Regions from separate parts of the Homo sapiens genome. Here all the other regions are linked to region 3. Evidence: promoter capture Hi-C in 16 types of primary human blood cells and fetal thymus (Javierre and others, 2016). All regions are on one chromosome and are shown on one strand. Each heading gives the region's core, a stretch centred on a gene start or on the middle of the fragment in contact. The rest is flanking DNA. Distances are from core to core; before and after follow the strand shown.

The links. The method cuts DNA at HindIII sites, captures the fragments that hold promoters and counts their contacts. A CHiCAGO score of 5 or more calls a contact.
Region 1: a fragment that was not itself captured here is called in contact with the fragment with the promoter of DNAJB11 in region 3 in 2 of 17 cell types (activated CD4 T cells and naive B cells); the score reaches 6.1 in activated CD4 T cells.
Region 2: a contact is called between a fragment that was not itself captured here and the fragment with the promoter of DNAJB11 in region 3, in 1 of 17 cell types (total B cells). The highest score is 5.4, in total B cells.
Region 4: a fragment that was not itself captured here is called in contact with the fragment with the promoter of DNAJB11 in region 3 in 1 of 17 cell types (activated CD4 T cells); the score reaches 5.3 in activated CD4 T cells.
Region 5: a fragment that was not itself captured here is called in contact with the fragment with the promoter of DNAJB11 in region 3 in 2 of 17 cell types (naive B cells and total B cells); the score reaches 6.7 in naive B cells.
Region 6: a fragment that was not itself captured here is called in contact with the fragment with the promoter of DNAJB11 in region 3 in 1 of 17 cell types (naive B cells); the score reaches 6.9 in naive B cells.
Region 7: a contact is called between a fragment that was not itself captured here and the fragment with the promoter of DNAJB11 in region 3, in 2 of 17 cell types (naive CD8 T cells and activated CD4 T cells). The highest score is 5.2, in naive CD8 T cells.

The regions. Positions count from the first base shown.
Region 1 is chr3:186,064,832-186,068,355 of GRCh38, reverse strand. It overlaps ETV5 (ETS variant transcription factor 5), which reads left to right. Exons shown (of 13, transcript NM_004454.3): 8 at 2,284-2,543. Among named protein-coding and RNA genes, the nearest start is that of ETV5-AS1, 13 kb to the left of the region's middle. The HindIII fragment of the contact is 2,996 bases long and covers 29-3,024 here.
Region 2 is chr3:186,158,198-186,161,380 of GRCh38, reverse strand. All of the region lies in intron 24 of DGKG (diacylglycerol kinase gamma), which reads left to right. Among named protein-coding and RNA genes, the nearest start is that of ETV5, 51 kb to the right of the region's middle. The HindIII fragment of the contact is 1,963 bases long and covers 705-2,667 here.
Region 3 is chr3:186,569,300-186,572,520 of GRCh38, reverse strand. It overlaps DNAJB11 (DnaJ heat shock protein family (Hsp40) member B11), which reads right to left and starts at 1,801. Exons shown (of 10, transcript NM_016306.6): 1 at 1,556-1,801; 2 at 270-426. The coding sequence starts at 1,623. It also overlaps a transcript of TBCCD1 not described here. RefSeq lists a silencer at 1,550-1,789. The HindIII fragment of the contact is 6,099 bases long and covers 1-3,221 here.
Region 4 is chr3:187,040,706-187,043,889 of GRCh38, reverse strand. ST6GAL1 (ST6 beta-galactoside alpha-2,6-sialyltransferase 1) reads right to left here. Exons shown (of 8, transcript NM_173216.2): 4 at 580-1,236. The coding sequence starts at 1,186. Among named protein-coding and RNA genes, the nearest start is that of RPL39L, 97 kb to the left of the region's middle. RefSeq lists an enhancer at 1,987-2,056. The HindIII fragment of the contact is 3,531 bases long and covers 1-3,133 here.
Region 5 is chr3:186,103,521-186,106,574 of GRCh38, reverse strand. It overlaps ETV5 (ETS variant transcription factor 5), which reads left to right. Exons shown (of 13, transcript NM_004454.3): 2 at 633-751; 3 at 863-950; 4 at 1,079-1,126; 5 at 1,220-1,270. The coding sequence starts at 707. Among named protein-coding and RNA genes, the nearest start is that of ETV5, 4.0 kb to the left of the region's middle. The HindIII fragment of the contact is 886 bases long and covers 962-1,847 here.
Region 6 is chr3:186,087,538-186,090,848 of GRCh38, reverse strand. The region is part of intron 5 of ETV5 (ETS variant transcription factor 5); the gene reads left to right. Among named protein-coding and RNA genes, the nearest start is that of ETV5-AS1, 10 kb to the right of the region's middle. The HindIII fragment of the contact is 4,166 bases long and covers 1-3,311 here.
Region 7 is chr3:187,062,816-187,066,130 of GRCh38, reverse strand. All of the region lies in intron 5 of ST6GAL1 (ST6 beta-galactoside alpha-2,6-sialyltransferase 1), which reads right to left. Among named protein-coding and RNA genes, the nearest start is that of RPL39L, 75 kb to the left of the region's middle. RefSeq lists an enhancer at 318-497. The HindIII fragment of the contact is 2,549 bases long and covers 465-3,013 here.

The sequences.
Region 1 (3,524 bases), core at 277-2,776, 500 kb after region 3:
ATACTACTACTTTTATTTTTGCTAAGCTTTGATACTCTACGTACTGTTTAGCAACCTTCCTTAATATGTCAAAAATACCTTTCCAAGACCTTATATATTTACATATTATGTAATTTCTAATGGTTGCTTTCAACCAAATGACTGTATCATAATATATATAGCCAGTTTCCTTGTTAGACAGCTGCATTGGTGACCATCTTTGTAGTTATACCTGATCATCTGTGACTGAATTGCTGTTCAGGTACCTGGCACAGAATTAGTAACTGCCTGCTCATCTTCCAAGCTAAAAGGAAAAACACTTCTCTTCTGACTTTGTTACTTTTTTAATTACTAATGAGTTAAACTTTTTGTTTATGACCATTCCTATTCTGTAAGGATATTCCTGTTTATGTCCTTTGCCCATTTTTTTCCTCTTGAGATATTCATCTTTTGTTAATTTCTAAAAGCTCTTTTTGCCAACAGTGAGATTCCTGTATCTGTGGAGATTTTTCCTCAGTTTTACTTTTGGTTTTGTTTCTGGTGTTTTCTGACTACTGCAGATTCTTTCCCCCTGGTTTGATGTGTTTCTTTTGGTTTTGTTTCCGATGTCTTTTTAAGTTATAGAAATTTATACAGTGAGGTATATCCAGGTTTATCTTGATGATTTCTGCTGTTGGTATGATACTTAGGTTTTCCCTCACTCCCAAGTTTTGTAAGTTTTCATATATATTTACTTTCATATGATGGTTTCACTTTTTTTTTTTTTTGAGACAGTCTTGCTCTGTTGCCCAGGCTAGAGTACAGTGGCGCAATCTCGGCTCACTGCAACCTTCACCTCCTGGGTTCAAGTGATTCTGATGCCGCAGCCTCCTGAGTAGCTGGGATTACAGGTGCACAAAACCACGCCTGGCTAATTTTTTTAGGTTTTTTTGTTGTTGTTTATTTTGAGACGGAGTCTCGCTCTGTCACAAGGCTGGTGTGCAGTGGCGCTATCTCAGCTTACAGCAAACTCCGCCTCCCAGGTTCAAGCGATTCTTCTGCCTCAGCCTCCAGAGTAGCTGGGACTACAGGCGCGCACAACCACATCCAGCTAATTTTTGTATTTTTAGTAGAGACGGGTTTCACCATGTTGGCCAGGATGGTCTCAATCTCTTGACCTCGTGATCCCCCCGCATTGGCCTCCCAAAGTGCTGGGATTACAGGCATGAGCCACCACCGTGCTGGGCCAATTTTTTTGTATTTTTAGTAGAGATGGGGTTTTGGCACGTTGGCCAGGTTGGTCTTGAACTCCTGACCTCAAGCGATCTGCCCGCCTCAGCCTCCCAAAGTGCTGGGATTACTGGCATGAGCCACAATGCCTGGCCTGGTTTCACTTTTTATATTGGAACCTTTAATCCATATGAAATTTATTTTGGTATCTGTATAAAATGGGGTCTAACTTTTTTCCCCAACTAATTTGAAATGCTAACCTTAACAAGTAGTAAATTTTGGAATATACTTGACAGTTTTTGGCTTGCCATTAAATTCCTTTGACCTGCCAATCTCTCAATTTGTTGTATTATTGTTTTAATTATTGAAGTTTTATGACATATGTCAGTAGCTAGTGGGTCCTTATGCCTTTTCAAAATAAAGTTTAGAATCATTTTGTCAAGTTAGTTGGGAAGGCATTTGCTTTTATAGATTAATTTTCAGTGAATCAATAGCTTCAAAGTCCTAAATATATTCTCTTAAATCTTTTTTCTTTCTTTTCCTCTGAAAACAATTTTGAGATTTTATTCTTATATGGCCTATAGGTTTCCTGATTATTCCTAGGAATGTTATGTTTTTTATTGCTACTATGAATGGGATTCTCTCTCTTTTTTCTTTTTAACTACATTTTCTAACTGGTTAATTTGTATTCAGTCTTTAAAAATTCCTTCTATCTATAGGTGAGAGAATGGATGAACTAGTGAACAAACATTTATGTATATGTTAGTGCTATTTGCAGATAATTGGTCTCATATATTCAGATACATAATCTGGCCCATCTATACAGATAGACTGTGCATAAAATATACATACATGGAAGATAAGAGGCTACCACATCATTGCTTTGATTTTTTTTTTTTTTTTTTGCCACTTCCTGACTCAAGAGCTTCGAAATACACAATGTAATTTTGGGAAGAGGGTAAAATGCCCAGAAATAAGCATTATTAAGTACTTTGCAAATAATTTCATTAATTGGAACTTCTAGTCCCCAGTGCTCAATCATAGTAGGAATTCATCAAGTCTTTGTTCAACATGAAAACCTCTTTCTTCTTACAGATTTCAGAGACAACTGTCTGAACCCTGCCACCCCTTCCCTCCTCAGCCAGGAGTTCCTGGAGATAATCGCCCCAGTTACCATCGGCAAATGTCAGAACCTATTGTCCCTGCAGCTCCCCCGCCCCCTCAGGGATTCAAACAAGAATACCATGACCCACTCTATGAACATGGGGTCCCGGGCATGCCAGGGCCCCCAGCACACGGGTTCCAGTCACCAATGGGAATCAAGCAGGAGCCTCGGGATTACTGCGTCGATTCAGGTCAGCATCAAATTGTGCTATTCTTTGCTTCATTCTTGCATTCTTCTGTCTCGTTATTCAGTGTCTTATACATGCAGGGCCTTGGGGACAGGAATTTTTATAAGAATTTTTTATAATTTTTATAAGAATTGCCCTCAAATAACTTAGGAGCTAGTAGAGCTGACATGTTTATGCGCAATGGAATACAAAACAAAACAGAAAAGCTATGTAAGTGGTAGGAAGTGCGGTAGGCATTCAGAAGTGGTATGAAGTACATCTCTGAGTCCAAGCCTGGAGAGTGTTGGGGTTCAGTTTTGGATGGAATTTGCTCGACCTTCTCTGAGATAATACATAGATTGATCTATTCAGGCACCAGTTGGTTATGGGAAATGCTGAGGAAATAGGCAGAAGGGAGAGACCTGTTGCTTTATGACAGAAAAATTACCAAGTGTGAGGTAGTGATCGTGTGTAAACATTTCCATCAGCATTCCTCTGGAAAGCTTTGATGTATTTTTCTCAGGAGTAGCATGAACAGCAACATTTTTTCCTTTAAGACTGACATTTTGATCTGTCCTGATGGGTTTTGCACCCCACTCCACTCCCTTAAAGCAAGACACTCAACAGAGGTTACCATATCTGTAATTCTTTGATCTGAGTTGTATTGCCAGGGTGATGGCTCATCCCACATGGACACAACTCAAATTACTGTCTTTCGTCTCGATGGACACTGATAACATGATGGCTGAAGAAGAGATCACTTGAGTGTGGTTTGGTTTCAGTATGACAGCCCCAGCATGGCAAAAATGGACCAAACTGCAATCCTCTACCCCTTCCAATGCTGGTCCTGGCTTCCTAACTTCAGGTCCCCTAATCCCTTTGGCCTAAAAATACTCCCACCTGTTGGAGCAAAATTAGATGTGACCACCAGCAGTAAAGGGGAGCAAATTAGAAAAGATCTAAAGCAGTCCTCTTCCCGTTCCCACCCTAACACCCAGGAGTCAG
Region 2 (3,183 bases), core at 437-2,936, 410 kb after region 3:
TGAATGAGACATAGAACCAACTTCGAGGAGTTCACAGTTCTAGTCAGTGAATTCTGAGACTTCATCTACTGTATCCTGGACAGCCTCAGCTTGAATCATGTCAATGGCAAGGAATTTACTACCTCAAAAGGAAGACTGTTCTGCTGATGAACAAGTCAAATTGCTTCCTTACGTGGAAGCCAAATCTACACACTTACCTTACCTAGAATTTGGTAGGGTAGCGCCTTTGACTGCTGGAGCTCCCGGGAGAAAATTCCTCGCAGAGCACAGACATGCCTCCCAGTCGGTGCACCCAAAGCCCTGATAACCTACTTGAAAATTCCACTGAATGAGTCACCACGCAGGTTATCTATTTTGTTTATGGCACTGTCACCCAGAACGTAGAACAGTGCCTGGTTTGTAATAGTTGCACAATAATACATGTCAAATGATGAATAAAAGACTGAACAAATGAACTAACAAAAATAGACTATCTCCATTCCCAGACTTACCATATCCGTTAGCTCTCCCTTTAGCACTAGGACAGGAGCCATGCATCCTTCCTTCTTAGTTTGTCCTCAGTTAGAAATGCAGCTAGAATCTCGTGGTGAAGAGCAATCGTCGTCCTGGTTTTCAGGGCCTCTGCTGGGATACTACATGCGTAATACCCTCAATAAGATTGCAGCTATGCAAATTTCAAAAGACAAAAGTGGAGTTTCTAAGCTTCCTCACTCTAGTGGAGTATTCAGATACTTTGATCACCTGCTATTTTGAGCCCTCCAGAACATCAAATTGTCTTCTACTAAAGGAAGGTTTCCATGAACCTGCTGAGAAAAGGTAGCATCTTCTATAAAGGTTATCAAAAACAGAAATTTCTCTGCAAAAATCTTACCTCAATCTTATGAAGACCAAGAAAAAAATGAAAACACACTATATCAAATAATAGCTTTCCACCTTGCTGGAGTTAGGACGCATAGAGGGAATTTCTACTATTTATCATTTGATGGAACTGAGTTGAGAAGAATCTATCCAAGTTCCTTTTATCTCCAACCCCCCTACAAAAAAAAAGGTGGAAGAAATCAAACCCTCTCCTACCTGGTTCAGTCCTAGCTGAAAACTGGATTGCTATTCCTATAAATTCAAGCACTGGATTTTGAAATAGCCAAATGCTTCTCCCTATGCCCACACCCACCCTTCCTCCATACCACCCTTTAGAGATTACAACTCACTATGAAAAAATTTGTGAACCAATGATTTCATAGTGTGAGGCCCAGAAATCCGTATGTAAAGGTATATTCGTCTGCTTTGAGTGCCATAATAGAATACCACAGACTGACAGCTTAAACAACAGAAATTTATTTTCTCACAGTTCTGGAGGCTGACAACACAAGACCAAGGTGCCGGAAGGGCTGGTTTCTGGGGAGGCCTCTCTTCCTAACTTCCAACGGCTGCCTTCTTGTTGTATCCTCACATGGCTTTTCCTCTGTGTTTGTACACTCTTTTCTCTTCTTATAAGGACACCAGTTCTAAGGGATTATGGCCCCCCCGCCCCTTGTGACCTCATTTATCCGTTATTACCTCCTTAAAGGCCCTACCTACAAATATAGTCACACTGGGGGTTAGGAATTCAACATATGAATTTGGGGGGGACACAATTTATTCCATAACAGAAGGTAACAGAAAATCATTCTTAAACTTGCAAGGGTTAAAACCCATGTACCCCTTGTTGAAACATCTTCTTGAAGGTATACACCAACTAAGAAGTGATTCAAAATTAAAGCCTTAAGAATGGACTATCACAGCCCAAAAGAACTTTTGGTAAAAATGGAAACCAGTGAAATTAGAATGAAGTTTCCAAAAACCTGCTAAATATGTTTATGCAATAAATGCAAATGGCAAAAAATCATTCTTTGAAAGAGAAGACATATCATGTAAATATTAATAACCTGTATCCCAAACCTGAGATTATATTAACAAAGGCCAAAAACATGCAGGAGACACTGCTGAAGGAATAGTAAAGATATGTGAAGTTTCTCATTGTCTCTCTTCACTTTGATGACAAAACGTATAAATCAGAAGATAATTTTAATAGGTAGACAATCACTAGCGAAACTAAAAATAGGGTGCACACCTTTCAAATCTGGAAGAATTTAAAATATATAAACCCTATTAATGTAGCACAGGATAGAAAGCAAAAAATAAGCCAACATTTAAAAATTTTTTGAAGCAAGTTGAATGATGTTAAGACTGTATATATATAATATATATATAAAAGAAAAATAGATGAGTTAAAATTCCCTATTAAAAGATCAATACTCTCATATTGAGTTAAAAATGAAAATCCAAATATATGCTTCTTACAAAAGATACATCTAAAATGAAAGGTTATACATACGTATATATAATATATATCTTATTTTATCCTTTATCAGGTATAAAGAAATTAAAAGGAAGACATAGTAATGTTAATTATGCTAATTTTAGGCAAACTAACCTTTCCATGTGCCTAAAGCATAAAGCAGAATAAGTAAACACATTTTTTATTTGATAAAAAGTACATTCAATTATGAGATATAGTGGTCATAAAATGTTAGATATTTAATAACAGAATCAAAATATATAAAAAACTATCAATACATATTCTGAGAAAAGGTTGATATAGAATTGACAGACAGATATTGAGAAGCTTGAAAATATTTGTTTCCATCTTTGAGGTTAAGTAGCAAAAAAATAAATGCTTGGATGAAATAACTCTATAACTCATAAAGAAATTAAATATCATATTTGTTCAGGCATTCATATTTATTAAACTAGATCATAAACTAGTTTACAAGGCAAAAAGCTCCATAAAATCCAGTTGCAGAAATTATAAAGGTCATTTTCTTTGACCACAAAGTAATAAAGCTAGAAATTACTAATAGAAGATTAAGTGAATAAACAAAATTTAGTCACTTGGAGACTTAAAAATTCTCCTAAACAACAAGAGATTTATGAGGAGATCAAAGCCACCATGGTAGATTACTCAAAAAATTACAAAAATAAGAAGGCTCCAGTTTAAAAATTATAGAATATAGCCTAAACTATATTTGGAAGTAAATTAAAAGCCTCATAATCTTCCATCATATAAAAAAGAAGTAAAATGTAATGAATAATACTAAAATTAGAAGAGCAATAATAAAACAATCTTAGGAGAAGCAGAAGGAA
Region 3 (3,221 bases), core at 552-3,051:
AAAATACAAAAATTAGCCAGGTGTGGTGGCATGCACCTGTAATCCCAGCTACTTGGGAGGCTGAGGCGGGAGAACTGCTTGAACCCAGGAGGTGGACGTTGCAGTGAGCGGAGATTGCACCACTGCACTCCAGCCTAGGCAATAGAGACTCAGTCTCAAAATAAATAAATAAATAAATAAATGTGAGCTGAAAGGAGTGTTTCTCTGTATTGTATGTTTTTTCTAGAGCTACAGATTTTATTCGTACTTTATCACTTTTCCCAACTCACCTCATAAGCAGCACCCAGATCCTGGAATTTCTCCTGGGCTTGTGGATCATCAGGGTTCCGGTCGGGATGAAGCTGCAGGGCTAGTTTCCTATAGGCCTTTTTAATATCCTTTATAGAGGCACTTCGAGGCACCCCCAAGATCTTATAGAAATCTCGTCTGGGAAGTAGAGGGAGAGAATACTTCATTAAAGAGTTACATGTTACATTTTTCAAAGTAAAAGATTTATTTTTCCTCTACATTTAGGTTTGTATCTGAGCAAAGAGGTATAAAAATGAAGGTTTATGTGACACATACACACACAAAGAATGACTAAAGAGAGAACACCAGAATTTGTAATGAATCTTATATATTGAAGTAATCACAGTAAGAGGCTATATACTTCTTTTCGGATTATTCAAAACATCTGTGGCACTTTTCTTTCAGAACCACCTTCGGTCAAGAAAACCACTTCCTTATTTTATGGTCTCATGTTATCTTTAGGCAATAACCATATAATCAAATTAACTCTTCCCCCCTTTCCCTATACTGGCTCCAAATGATTTTGACTTTTCTAAAAGTCAAATAACACTCTCAAAGGATGATTTTCCTTCTTTAAAAAGATTATGCCACATAAATGTCCTAACAGTAGCACTGCCAGAATGTTAAAGATGAAGCAACTTAAGATAATAAATAGCTCAAGAAGCTGGGAAGTACAAGGGCTGTCTAAAGATCTTCTTGTTCCCATCCCGCATCCAATTTCGTTCAGTCCCAACTCGGGCTGGCATCATCCACCCACTTTAATGTCAGCCCCAGAATGGCTCTTCGAAGGCTTGGCATAGAGCATCGTCCGCTTCTCCACCTCAGCGGGGCACAGCAACTCACCTCTTTGATCAAACAAACGTCCATCCCCTCAACCTCAGCCTGGCACTGTCACTATCTTTCCTTACAGTCAGGCATCCCTCTTTCTTCCCCAGCTCTACGTGACACTGCTTCAGCTCGCAACCACCTTCTTTCCCTCATCCCCCAAATGCCGTTTGGCAATGCATCCAACTCCCACTCCTCTGGGCAAATCTAGCTCTACCTAAGACCCTCTCTGGACCTAAGGCCCTCTCACTGGTGTCACCCACGGTTCTCCTCTCACCCCACTAGCCTGGCCCATACTACCCCTTCCTCCGCCACCCCGCCAACCCACAGCGATGCCCCTCTCCACTCCGTCAGTCTGGCAATGCCACTTCCCCCACCCCCTCCCACCCCCCAGCAAAGGCTGACCCACAGGCCCCGTTGTCTGCGAGTGTCTGTTCCTCACCCGGCAATCACCGCCCCGATGAGGTATAGCAGCAACAGGCAAAAGGTGCTCAGGTTCTGCGGAGCCATGGTTCCTCTGTCCCGGGTCCTGTTCCACACACTCCTCACAGCCTCCTCCGCCGCCGCGTCGGCTCGCCAGCCCACCCGGCCCTGTGAGGCCGCCTCACACCGGGGGGGCGCGGGGGTCTCCTTGGTCCGCAGAGACAGCTAGCTAGCCCCCTCTTCTGCCGGTCCACTTCCCGGGAGTCCCGAGTCCCGGTGAGAGAAGCCCCCGGTAGGCGAGAGCCAATCGTTGCCCGGGACATCACACGCGGCCGGCGCCTGGAAGCCAATCAGCGCAGTACACTTCACCTCCGAGGCGGCACGGGCAACCAGTTAGGCTTCAGAACTGCAGTCGCAGCTCTTGACCAATTAGAAGCGGAGACGTCAGAGGGTCGCGCCGCTGCAGGAACCCGCTCTGCCTGAGCTACCGCGAGTCGTAGAAAATTACGTAATGATAGGGGGCCGGTCAGAGTGAGGGCACCTGAGGTACACGAAATCCCTCCGGCTTGCCCACTTCCTCGGACTTTCCACCAATCAGGAGCTTCCTCCCCAGCACCAACCAATTGTGGGAGAGAAGTTTTCTCTGTGCTACAAGCCCGGAATTTCATTCATACCCAGCTACGCTCCGAATGAGGGAGCAGAGGTACAGCGGCCGAATGAGCGGGAACAGTTATTCCACGACAGGTGTACATCAGACGCATTGCTTAGGCCTCTTATTTTACGTTCTCCAAGCAACTCCATAAGACAACTGTCTCGGAAAGGCTACAGTGATGACAGACCGACTTAAGTTCGGATTCGGCTTCCACCGCTTCTTAGTGGTGAGACCCCCCACCCCTCCCCTCCTCCCAAGTCTGAGCCTAAGTTTATCAACAAAACTGAGGCAAAGCACTTATTGGCAGTTCTGTGAATTTTAACAGGGAAAAAAATCGGTAAATCATCGGGCGTATAGTAAGCAGGCAACGAGTAAAAACCATTATTACGGTTCAAGCAGAACTCTTTGATTCCCCATCTTCCCCCCGATTTTGCTCATCGCAGTTACACAACACCTAGTTGATCAGGACAAAGCTCTAGGTGTTTTTATTCCTTTCATGCATAAGCTATCCAACTCTTTACCTCTGAACTATACTTCAATCTGTTCACTACATCTCCATTACCAGGATTCTGGGTCACAGTGTATCTCTCACCTGGCCAGGGCCTCCTAACTGGCCTCCTTGCCCCCACTCTTAATATCTTCCTTAATATCTTAATATATGTTGCTCATCCCTGTCCCTCACTCCATGATTTAAAAAAAAAAAAAAAAAGCCCGGGCGCGGTGGCTCACCCACCCAAAGTGTAATCAGCACTTTGCGAGGCCGAGACGGGCGGAGCACCTGAGGTCAGGAGCTTGAGACCAGGCTGGCCAACATGATGAAACCCTGTCTCTACTAAAACTACAAAAATTAGCCAGGTGTGGTGGCGAGCGCCTGTAACCCCAGCTGCTCGGGAGCCTGAGGCAGGAGAATTGCTTGAACCTGGGAGGTGGAGGTTGCAGTGAGCCGAGTTCCTGCCACTGCACTCCAGCCTGGGCGACAGAGTGACACACCGTTTCAAAATAAATAAATAAATAAATAAATAAAAAATAAAAG
Region 4 (3,184 bases), core at 119-2,618, 470 kb before region 3:
TGAAAATTACCCAGGTTGTTGAGGCCAATAGAGTCCTCCACTAATCAGGAAAAACAACAGAATTTCAGAACCTGGAAATGATGTGCAGATCTATGCTTCAAGTCTTTTCAAAGGTCAATTGTAGGCTTTTGATTATTGGTAGCAGCGGAACTCTCTTTTTCAAATGAAATCTTCTACACAATTCCAATATTTAAAACAGATGAAAATAAAACTATTCTGTTCCCAACACAAAGAAACAATAAATGTTCAAGGTGATAGATATTCTAATTACCCTGATTGGATCATTACACATTGAATACACGTATCAAAATATCCCCATAAATATATCTAATTATTATATATCAACTAAAAATATTAGGAAACAATAATGAAGCTCTTCTAATTGATAAAAGATGCGGGGGCCTAGAGCGCCATCTGTTCAACTCCCTCTGTGTCACTTGTGACTCTGAAAAAAACACTGCCCTGGGCCCACTCCACTGGTCCGCTGAGCCACACTTGGGCCACTTGTCTCCCATACCATCAATATGCCCAGCCAGTCCCAATAAGCACTGCCATTCACAGAACAACCCCAGAACATACCGATTTCTCTGCCTAGTTGGGAGGACTTCAGAGATCCCGCTGACGACACAACAGCACACCTGCCCCAAGGCCCAGCCTTGGTCCTAATGCTCTCCTTGGGCAGATAACCCTCCCATTCAGAGGTATTGAAGGGAAAATCTGTGACCTCTACCATGGATACATTCACATGGTCCCGGAGGTGGCAGCGCAGGGCCTCTGCACTGAACTTGATGCCTGGTCCTGGCCCCTTGTAGGACACTTTGTACTTGTTCATGCTTAGGTAATTCTTCCAGATCTTTTGCAGCCTAGGGATAAGGTTTTTGGAAGAGCTGTCCTTGTTCCACACCTGGAAGGAGGCCTCTGGTTTGGCCTTGGCTAGGCCTCTGAGACTGCCGAGGGTCTGGCGGCCCCTGTGGGGGTCCTGGGTGCTGCTTGAGGATACAGACTGGGAATCAGACCCCATGGCCAATTTCCCCAGACTCTTTAACACCTGGAATTCCTTGGTTTGCAATTTAAAGGAATCATAGTAACTCCCTTTCTTCTTTTCCTTCCACACACAGATGACTGCAAACAGAAGAAAGACCAGGACGCAGCAGCTGAACTTTTTCTTCAGGTTGGTGTGAATCATAATGAAGATGTGTTCAGGGAAGTCACTTTGTTCTGAGCAGGAAAACAAGCCTAAAAAAAGTGAGACAAGGAAAAACAAATGATGTAAAGAAAAACCCAATGTGGCATGAGGCGGAGCGATGGACTGAGCAATAGATTTGAAATGAGGTGACTTGAATTCCAGCCCTGGTCTACCTCCTGGCCACCTCTGCAGCCTGTTAAGCAATTCTCGACAAAAGTCAGACTCAATTTGGGCTTTGAACGTGGACAGCAGTCCCTCTTCCTCTTCCACTCTTCCACTCCCTTCTTCCTCTTGAGCCATGAACACTTTATATGTCCTCCCATCATTACTTTTTCTATGCTGAATATTAGTTTCTGGTTGCCTTGGTCTACCTCTCTGACTGCACTCTGAGTTTCTTGAAGTCAGAAACCACATCTTGCAAATCACTCAGTTCCTAGGGCCTTGTAACATTTGTTAAATGAAGCCATGCATGCTTGAAAAAAAAATAGAATAAAAAAAAGCAGGCTGACTGTTTTACATCACCAGACCTAAACTTCCTAAAATAGTAAGTGGCCCAACACCCCTTCAAAATGGCCAGAAAAAGACTTCTCGTTATAGATGATGCCATAGATTTCTGATGTATCTCTCTAAGGGCTGCGATGCTGGACTCCTGCATGAGAAGATCGAGGGTTATCTCCACCACAGTTTTGTGCAGTGCCCTGCAAGAAGAGCACTGCTGAGACAGGAAGCTGACTCACCTCATGATAGAGGCTAGGAATTCTGGGTAAGATAGCAGACATGTAGCCAACTAAGGAAATGGAAACAAAAATTCATTAAGCACGCTAGATGTTATTTCACTTAACTTCACCATAACCAGGGCCACCATGAGACACAACTCTGGGGGCACCACGCATAGCATAGTCTAATACGAAGGGCATCTCCTAACCTGTACAGGGTTCACTTCAAAGGTGTTATAATCTCCATTTTATGGATTAGCAACCTGAGGCTCTAAGAAGTCAAGGGAAGTGCCCAAGCTCACAGAGCTGAGGAAATGGTTGCACTGAGGTTCAAATCGAAGTGGATTTGATTCCATAACCCATGTCCTTTCCAGTACAACATGCACAGAACTGCAAGAAGCTCTGGAAAATAGATTTCACTGAGCAAATAGAGACTGAATAGTCTCTTTATTTCTGAGTAAACACCTACTTTGTTTTCTCAGAATTTATTGTGTAACTGAATGGAAACTGGAAGCACTTTGAACTCAAATAATGTCTGTATCTTTTGGAAAACATTACATTCTTTCCCCAATCACTGGGTTTATTTACAATAATAAATCAAAGCAATCACCTCCGGGGTTTTGCTAACCCACTAGGGGTCTGAGGTCCCTTCCCATGGATCCCGCTCCTAAGGATATCAGGAAAAGGTAGTAGGAGTACTGGACTGGGTGTTCACAAAACCTGGGTTCTTATCCCCATTCTTGGTGACCTTGGGCAGGTCACTTAATATTTCTGCCCCTGAGTTTTTCAGAATAATTATCTCTGCCCTATGTGATTTGCAGAGTGTTGGGAGGGCAAAACAAGAGCATGGTATTCATTGGATTTGAACTAGATAAGCAAAAAGGCACAGAAGGTATTCTGAACAGAGACAGGAGAGCAGCAGCTCAGCCTGGGGGCCATGTGGAGGTGATACGGGTAGTGAAGACAGCAGTGTGAAGCCACAGCCATGACTCAGCAGCCCTGAGCTCCAGGCTCTTCCCTGGGAATTCTCCATGAACTGACATCCAGCTCATTCCTGGAATCCATTGGCAGTACCAACCAAAGCAGTGCTTCCACCATCCCAGACCTCAGGAACCAGTGACTCTGGGAACGATGGGCTCCTATCTTGGGCTGCTGAAGTTGTGGAAATGATTAAATGTACACAGTGGAAGAAGAATTCAGATAGAAGATCATGAAGTGAAGGGTGGAAGCTTGTTGTATTACCAGAAACTAAGGAATTCAATTTCCGCAGACACCCAACACA
Region 5 (3,054 bases), core at 155-2,654, 470 kb after region 3:
CTGTAAGTAACCAGGGAGATATTTGTGACATTACAGATGCTATATCTGTTTAGTCCTCTTTTAAATAAAGAGTTGTGTGTGAAGATAAGTATACCTCTGATCAATTTATTCCAGGAACTATATATAGTGTTTTAACAGTGACCTACAAAATGCTTTTGGAAACACCATGTATGTCAGATCTTTAATTGCCAATAATTTGGAATACTTAAACCCAGTTTCTCTGCTTCCTGACACTGTACTGTCAAAAATTAAATTATCTCTTTTTTAAAAACCCTACTACAAATGCCCTGGAGTATATGAGAGAATCTTGAAATCACCCTTTTATTTTATTTTATTTATTTATTTTTGTTTTGGTAGAGAACAGACAGTAGCAAATCTGTAATTTTAATGATTTAAATAAGAAAGAAAAAATGATGACTGGGTAAATGGATTTGGCACGGAGTACATCCTGTACCTCTGATACCATTAATCAAGCCCGGCATTGGTGTGTAAAGCTTGCACCTTGAGTAGGTTTTAAGTACTTCACAGAAGGGTAATAATTTTGCACAGGCCCTAAAAAAAAGGCAGTCTAAAATTGTTTCATTTCTTTTTTTCCCCCCTCTTAGTTAAAATCTCCCAAATTCATATTACAGGAGGATCCCTTTTCCCCCAGAAATTACTCAATGCTGAAACCTCTCAAAGTGGTATTAGAGACGCTGAAAGCACCATGGACGGGTTTTATGATCAGCAAGTCCCTTTTATGGTCCCAGGGGTAAGTTTATGTGGCTTTTGGTTTGTTTTGTCCTCCCTCTCCAATATGAGTCTTCCCCCTGTGGACCTCTTTACTACACTTGAGCCTTCACTTTCTGTTGGCCTCTTTCAGAAATCTCGATCTGAGGAATGCAGAGGGCGGCCTGTGATTGACAGAAAGAGGAAGTTTTTGGACACAGATCTGGCTCACGATTCTGAAGGTAGTAAAGCTTTCCCTGATTATGTTGTGGCTTCCCTGCTCCCAGTGACAGTAGCGTGTAGATTCTTCCCTGTCTTCTCCCTAGCGAAAGAAATATCCTCATTCTGGGGTCTTCTTTTTCAATTTCAGAGCTATTTCAGGATCTCAGTCAACTTCAAGAGGCTTGGTTAGCTGAAGGCAAGTTTCATGGATGTCCTATTTTCCATATAAAACATTTTACTGTGCTTTTTAATAAAACTTAAAGGTCTAAAATAAAAATCTATTTTCCAGCACAAGTTCCTGATGATGAACAGTTTGTCCCAGATTTTCAGTCTGATAACCGTAAGTACCTTTCTGGTGATGGCACATTTGTTCTGAAATTGTTTGGTCTTAGATCATCCATGTCTAGAATATGCTTTTTTCAGCTATGGCCAGATTTAGACAGTAGTATGCATTTAGTTTCTTCTAATAATTCAGAATTAACCCTGAAAACTTTTATTTCATAATAAAATTATTTCTAAAGTATTTCTACTGTATTGCAGGTAAGATTTACTGAACATAATTTTATCCTAAATTTCTTTTTACCTTAAGAATATTGTAAAGCTGACTGGGCACAGTGGCTCACACCTATAATCCCAGGGCTTTGGGAGGCTGAGGCAGGTGGATCACTTGAGGTCAGGCATTCAAGACCAGCCTGGCCAATATGGTGAAACCCCGTCTCTACTAAAAATACAAAAATTAGCCAGGTGTGGTGGTGGGCGCCTGTAATCCAAGCTACTCAGGAGGCTGAGGCAGGAGAATCACTTAAATCCAGAAGGCGGAGGTTGCAGTGAGCTGAGATCGCATCACTGCACTCCAGCCTGGGCAACAGAGCAAGACTCCATCTCAAAAAAAAAAAAAAAAAGAATATTGCAAAGCTTTAAGCTCAAAATTATAAATTAACTGACAAAATATATTTGGTGTTAGGCCAAGCATCTATTAATCACACATTGTTTTATGGCTTTTTTGGGGTTTGTTTTATAAATTAAGTCCTTGATGTGAATCATGAACCTGATATTTCTCTTTTTCTTAAAGGTGCAGAAAATAGTTAATGGAAAACTCCAGTTAACTTTGGCTTCATCCAACATGTTGTCAATTTTGTCTCTACCCCTAAGCTGACAAGGGGTGGTCACAGAGTGGCCTGATTTACTCTTACTTTTCGTGTAGTTGCTGTGGCTTTTCTCTTCAGAGAAGAGAAACTTTTTCTTAAAATGGCCACTAAGTGCTCATTACTAGAGAGAAAATGCAGTGGGAAGCTCAAAAGATGGCTTTCAACACTGGCAGGGGCATGGTTACTTTGCACTGATCTTTTGGGGCTGTCCTCAACAGGTTTGGGAGCTTTTATGGTCTAGGCAGAGTTATGAAGGACAAAGCCGGCTGATGAAATTTGAGCAGCACAGGGCTGCTCTAGAGAGCATTAGTCACTGGCGAATGAGCAGGTTTAAGAGAGGCCTGGAGAAAATGCTGCCTCTCTTGAGAGTTGCATCATAGAGAAATTCATGTCTCTTAGTCATAGTTTATAATAGCAAGCACCTGAGCCATGCAAGGACTCAATTTCTCATTTTGGACCAACAGATTCTTCCCAGCTTTGTTTTATCTCTGGGTAGGTGGGTGTATGTGTGTAAAAATGCCACTGGAGAGAGAGTATCTTAGGTCTCTCTCTAAGTAAAAAGTTGGGTATTCCAAATCTTTTAAATGTAAGAGCAGAGGTAACAGCTAAACATTCCTTAATGATAGGCCTCATGTCCAAGGCACAATGCCATGAAACTGTAAAAGGGAATAAACTGGAACACACACATGCATGGTTACCTTAGCTTTGTCACAGCTTGCTGTGGATGTGTTCTATGGGAGAGTAAATGCATGTTAATTATTGCCCTTTGATTGCTTTCGAGTGATTGGGAAGCTTGCCACTGAAAGACTAAATAAAGATAATCCAAGTGTGTGTGTGTGTGTGTGTGTGTGTGTGTGTGTGTGTGTGTGTGTGTGTTTGCAAGATGAAAGACAGGGTTTGTAATCCAACTTTGTTCTGTGTTGACAATTTGGCCCAGCCTTTCCAGTTCTTGCTCAGAGCAGCATAAACTGCAGTC
Region 6 (3,311 bases), core at 439-2,938, 480 kb after region 3:
ATAGGCCACCTATTTCCAGCTTCCTCTCGTCCTGATCCCAGCCCTGCTCAGCATTTAGGGGTAAAAAGGGCTAACCCAAGCTGCTTATGAGGGAAGAAAATGAAGGAGAACCATAAGAAAGAGAACTTCAATTCTGCCAACCTTCCCAGGTTGGTGATAGCTGCCTTGCACTCTCTGGAGGACCCTGGGGATGAAATCGAATGAGTTGTCCAGCTGTTCTGGACAACCTATTTGTCCTAAACGTGTTTTACATATAAATTCACAAGGAGTGGAAATTCTCCATTTTTTCTCAAGAATCGTTTGTGGTTGACTTGGGCATATATTTTAGTTCCTGTTATAGATGCATTAATATGAATATAGTTACTGATAGGTGTTATTTTTGTTGATCATTTTGCATTTGTGTAACTGCTATCTTTTTACCCAGGCAGGTTGATGGAAGTATTAGCAGGCAGTAGTCACAGTGACAGCAGTGGCTGTTTTTATTTTGCCATCTCTGGAGTGTTCCCTTGTCCTTTCTAAGTGGGCCAAAGCCAACAAAATGTGTTTGAGAACCACTGGCGTAGACATTAGGTATGACCAGCATATATCCTTGTGTAAGGCTAGATTCCCAGGGCTGTATTATCCTTCCAATTCAGTAACAGGCCAAGGGTGGCTTTCTTCATTTGTCGACGTATGGTTTTGAGGTTCTAAGCATTTCTACTTTTGACATGTTAGTCAACTATAAGATAAAGGATTTTTTTTCCTCCAAATATCTCAGAGGAAATGGGACATAATAGCTGTTTTATTGATTTATTTTTAAAACGTATTGCTACATTTGCTTCATCTCTGTGTATATATGGTTTTTTCTTAACCATTTGAAAGCAAGTTTCAGGCATTATAACATTTCACCCCAAATACCCTGGTGTGCGTCTCCACAGATTGACATTCTCCTACATAGCCTGAGAAAATTAACTTTTATTCAGTAATGTTTGGAATTCCCCAGTTGTCTCCAGATATCTCTTTAGCAATGTTGATAATGGTTTTGATCTAGGATTCAATTTAAAATCACACATTGCATTTATGTTTATGCTTCATTTGTCTTCTTTAATATGCAACAGTCTCCCTAGCTTTTTTATTTTCCCTGTAACAGTGACTTTTTTGAAGTCTTGGCCAGTCGCTGACTTTTTTAGGGTCCATTTTTAAAGAATATATAGAAATGCAAACAGCATCCAGAAATGCTGCCCTTAGGCTTAGAAATCTCTAATATTGTTGATTCTCTCACTTCTCACATTTATGTATTTGTGTTGACCTTAAAACAGTGGTGAAAGAACAGAGTGACACAGATGGAGATAATTGGGTCAGAGATCATTTGTGCATGTTTGAGGAGAGGGCTTTTGGGGGGCTCATTAAACGGTTTTTAGCACAGCTTGCTCAATAGTTGATTTTACCATTTGTGGATGATTTTTCACCTATTAAATTTGAGAATTTATCCTTACACAGGTTAGCTGTGTGAGATATTAAAGAAAAACGGCACATTCTTCCATACCTACACCAATTCTGCTTTTAGAACTTGTGTCCCCTAACTAAATTTGATAACATTGTCAATTTTTGTTTTTGGAAACTGTTGCCAGGCAGGATCAATGTTAAACAAGTTTGAGCATGCCTCTTATTTGGTTTGGAAATCCAGACATCTCCTTTTCCAGATATTCTTTTTTAAGTGCCAGAACCTGTCCACTTAACCTTATCTCCTTGTGAACCTTCTTGTTTCCCAGAACAGAGTATTATCTACTATTAGAGTCATTCACTAGTGCTGTTAGAGCAGTTACAAAGAATATTGAGGTATAATAGATTTTATGTGTAAAATGAGTTTTTAATCTGCTCAGTCCTAAAATAAATATTTCTGACCCTCTCTGGTAATACTGTAGAACTTAAAAAATAAGTCTTACCCTATCTACATCTTTTTTCCTGCTAACTAGGTATTTGAGCTTTGTCTCAAAATTCGTCAAAAAAGGCAAGAGCTAAGAGTAGGCAGCACTATGTTGGAAGCACAAGGTACACTCCCTCCTGTGACTTAAAGCCCTCTGGTCTTTGCCAGTGGAGTACTCAGACAAGTTAAGGGCAAATCAGGGAAAAAGAGGTCATACCTGCTCTTCCCTGGTGGATTTTTCGGTTCTGTTTTGCCAGTGTCCTTGTTATTTTTCCATGTCCCTCTTCTTGATCATCTTTTCCTCTACCTTCTTTCCCTGTGTTCTACTCACTCCCACAACCACAGAATATTAATAGTATGGGCAGGTGTCTCGGACTTCTCTCCCCTCCCACCCCCATTCTTGGACTATGCAGTATGTAATTCTTCCTCTAGAGGGAAAGGAAGTGAGATGGCAGTGGTCACAGAGAGGAGCAGTGACCCAAAGCTGGTGGCCAGGAGACTTAGGAGAAGGCCTTCATTTCAGGATGATGGCTCTGGAACCCTGAGCAGTGTATGGCCATTACTATTTGTGTACATTCCACATCATATTTGTTCAAGTGTAATGGGAGGCTCTGGAGACCTAGGCCAGCCCCCTGAGCTGCAGCCTCATGGACACGCCATTCAGAAGCACGTGTCAGTGCTCTGGTCAGCTTCTGTCATGAGACACAACTTTCCATGTGAACTAAGAGGATAATGACAGTTGAGTGTGACCTGGAGGTCAGGCCTGCACAGCTGATTTGGGAAAGATGAGTCTGGGCCAGATGAAGGTAAATGAAACTGAAGAAGGGACAAGGAAAACCCCAAAACAGAACGTGAAGGATGGCAACTGCTGGAAGGCGGTCAAAGCCTGTGTGTGAAGTAGGAGAAATCTGGATGGGCTTAGTCCTTCTTCCCTTCAGACCGCAGGGTAACTAATTGGCAATTTCTTTAACACTCAGCAGCTACATAAATGTTTTATGTATTCACAACAAAGTCTGTGGCAAATTGAAACTTTGATGATTATGAAACACCAAAGAAAGCCTTATTAGACAAGATGGGTTTCGTCTTTCTTAAAAAAAAAAAAAATGCTTTTGAATGGAACTGTTGCTCATCATAACATTCAACAAAAGTGTTTTCCTACGTCTTGATCCTTGGGGCTGTAATAGTGAAGTTTACCATTAGCACGGGCATGGGGTGGCCGCCTTGAACAGTCCACAGGCCTGTACTTGTGGGCAGTAAACAGCTTTTGTCAGCAGAGGGAATTATTATTTCTCTTGAATGGACCAGTTTATTTTTTCTATTTTAAAACAACTGAGTTGTTTCTTTGGAAGACTGTTTCTAGACCATCACAGAAGAAAGATTTTCTAAAATTTGATATATTTTAGTA
Region 7 (3,315 bases), core at 490-2,989, 490 kb before region 3:
TCGCTGGTTTTAGACCCGTTGTTGATGGAAATCTCGCCCACCTCCCACCCGCCCTGCCAACCCATCCAGATACCTGTCTTTCAGTATCTTGAGAAGAAAAGTTGGAGCTTCCAGAAAGCTTTGGTGATTTAAAGTGCTGGTGGCAAACACCTAGAACCAAATCCCACCTCTGTCGCTTACTTTCTGGGCTCCTGTGAGCAACTTAAACTCTGGGAGCCTGAGTTCTGAGGTAAAATGGTGGTTGGTGGTCATACCTCACAGGGTTTGCCATGAAGATCAAATGAGAGAAGGCATGTAAGACCCTTAGATGGTATATATAATATATTTAACAAATGGCATCAACTATTATTTCAAGATAAGCCCCACTGAGTAATCTGGAAATGTCCTGGTTGCAGTCCAGTCAGTGTGGACTGTTGCTAGGCATATAGGAAGTAGGTCTTCTCTCTCCAGCTAGCACAAAAGCTTCCAAGGAAGCCACTGGGTCTTCTTGTCCCATTGTCTCCTCTCTCAGGCCCACAGGGTACAGGAGGTACTGAGTTGAGTCTCACAGAAACCTTCTTACTCTTATAGTCAAAACTGCATTTATTTAAAGACCTGTCCATTTACATATATCATTTTTCCTGTTGACTCTCATAGCCACACCTGGCACAGAAGTGTCACATGCCTGACTAGGTCTGCTGGCCTGAAACCTAACAGTATGACACCATTCTCTATAAAAAGCCACCTTCTCAATAAGAAAAGTGCCTTTTTTGTTTTGCATGCCTTCATCATGGCCAAGGGAGGGGAGCTGAACAAATGTGGGTCCAGATGGCTTTAGAAGAGAGCTGCTAAAGCCAGGCGCAGTGGCTCATGCCTGTAATCCCAGCACTTTGGGAGGCTGAGGCAGGTGGATCACCTGAGGTCAGGAGTTTGAGACTAGTCTGGCAAACATGGCAAAACCCTGTCTCTACTAAAAATACAAAAAATTAGCTGGGCATGGTGGTGCATGCCTGTAATCTCAGCTACTTGGGAGACCGAGGCAGGGGAATCACTTGAACCCAGGAGGCAGAGCAGGGAGCCGAGAGTGCACCACTGCACTCCAGCCTGAGCGCAAGAGCAAAACTCTGTCTCAAAAAAAAAAAAAAAGAAAAAGAAGAGAGCTGCTGTCAGGAGACCTCTCCGTCTGGGAAAAGAACAAGCCACTCAGAGGCAGAATTCTACCAAAGCAACAGCTATTCTCTCAGTGACTTCTGGGTGCCAGATGTTCTCCTTGTGGAGTGGGGGTGGGGACCCCGTTTACTAATCCACAGAAACAGACACAAAATAGTTAGGATAACTGACCAGGACAAAAGATAGAGAAGACAGACCACCAGCTTTTTAGGATATCAAGGTAAGAAAGGGCAATGATAGAAAGTGTCCATCACAGTTCAGTACCACCACAAGTGCTGTCATGGAGCGGCCAGGACTCGAGTACGAAAGGAACAGCCAGATACTTAGTGTTGCTTACAGGAGGTGAGAAAAGAGAGCTGACTTGCCTAAGAAGCAGCAGGAAAGGCTCTCTTGAGGGTGGGTAGTGTATCCCGGGAAGTGGGCCACCTTCCTCGCAGCCCTGGCACAATGGTGCACAGAGATCTAGAAGTGTAATGGGAAAAAAATCTGCTTCAGTAGAAAGCCATGCATTTTCTGAGCACACTCTTCCTCCCTGTCAGATTCTGATTCCACGGGAGCTATTTCGCAACCCTTTGTGAATTGTAGGCAACTAATACATGTGCCTACTGGGCAGGATGCTGCCCAGGAGAGTTTCAATTGATTTCTCCCCTCCCCCTGCCTTATCTCACAGAAAAACTAGTTCAACTCCTTTACTCCAAATTTGTGTTGCTTTGACTTTTCCTTTGAACCAGTTGTAATATCTGCCTGGTTCCATCATACGAGTAAAATAAAATCTTCATGATGAATTCATTTTTAATATCTGTATGAGAGTCATCATCTTACCTTTTTTTCCCTAAAAATTATCCTTTAACAGAAGTTTTGCCTCCCTTCTGCTAGATGCCTCTCAAGTGGTCTCAAGCTGACTCACCTTCCCTGTTGGGATTTGGGAAGGTGGAGTCATTCGCAAACAGGCAGAGGCAGACATTCAGGTTTCAGTAGTGCCCATCGCTACTATTTACAAAGCACTTGCTGCATACCAGCCTCTGGGTGACATGCTCCACACATAGTAACTCCTTTGATCCTAAAAAAAAACCCTGGATAGTAACTATTCATATTTCTGTGTTACAAGTAAGGGAAATGAGGCTCAGAAAGGTAAAGTAAAGCAACTTGCTGAAGTCACTCACACAGGAAGTGTTGGGGGAGGGATCTGATCAAAGCCTGCCTGACTCCAGTACTCTTAATTCCCAGGCAACCTTACTTTGGCCTTAAATACAGTTTCAAATCTTTGCAGGACTGGGGTTTCGTTCTTCACAGTGAGGAAGACTGAATCATCACGAAGAAGTGCTCAGAGAGTAGGTAGCCTCCGCAGTCCAAGAGAGTGCTCAGGGAGGGCTCCTCCCCTCTCCCCTCTCCTCTTTGCTGCTGCCTGCTCACCTCCAGATCCTACCATCCATGTATCAAACAGAGATTGGTTTCTCTCTAAATTCATTCTCTTCAACCTCAAAGTAGCCCAGCATGGCCTGGAAATCCTACTCCATTCATCAGGTTTACTGACGGTCCCACTCACCTCAATGACAATTATAAATCTCTTTGTTCAAACCTTCTCTACTAAAACCTCTTTCCCCCTCAGCCTCCTTCTGACTTGGCCTTGCATGCCACTTTGCAGAGAAAATAGAAGCCCTCTCATCCTTCTAATACTGACTGCCTCCAGCTACACCACTCGCACCTTCTTCCCTCTGACTCCCGCCTGCTGGGGTTCATCCTCCACTACGCTTTGGCTCCACCACCATCATGTTGTGGGTAACTAATCATTTTCTCCTCTTTTTAGTATATTCACTTTCTCCCTCTATCAACTGGTTTCTCCCTGTTGATTTAAAAGAAAGCTTTTAAAATATACATAACATAAAATTGACCATTTTAGCAACTTTAAGTATTCAGCTTAGTACATTCCTATTGTTGTGTAACTATCACCACCATCTCCAGAACTTTTTCAGCTTCCCAAAATGAATCACAGTATTCATTAAACAACAATTCCACATTCCTTTCTCCTCCTAGCCCTTGGCAAACATCATTCTACTTTGTTTCTACTCCAGGTGTTCCATATAAAGTGGAATCATACAGTGTTTGTACTTCTGTGACTGTCTCCCCTACTGACATTTTTTCCAATTTAAAAATTGTATTAAAATA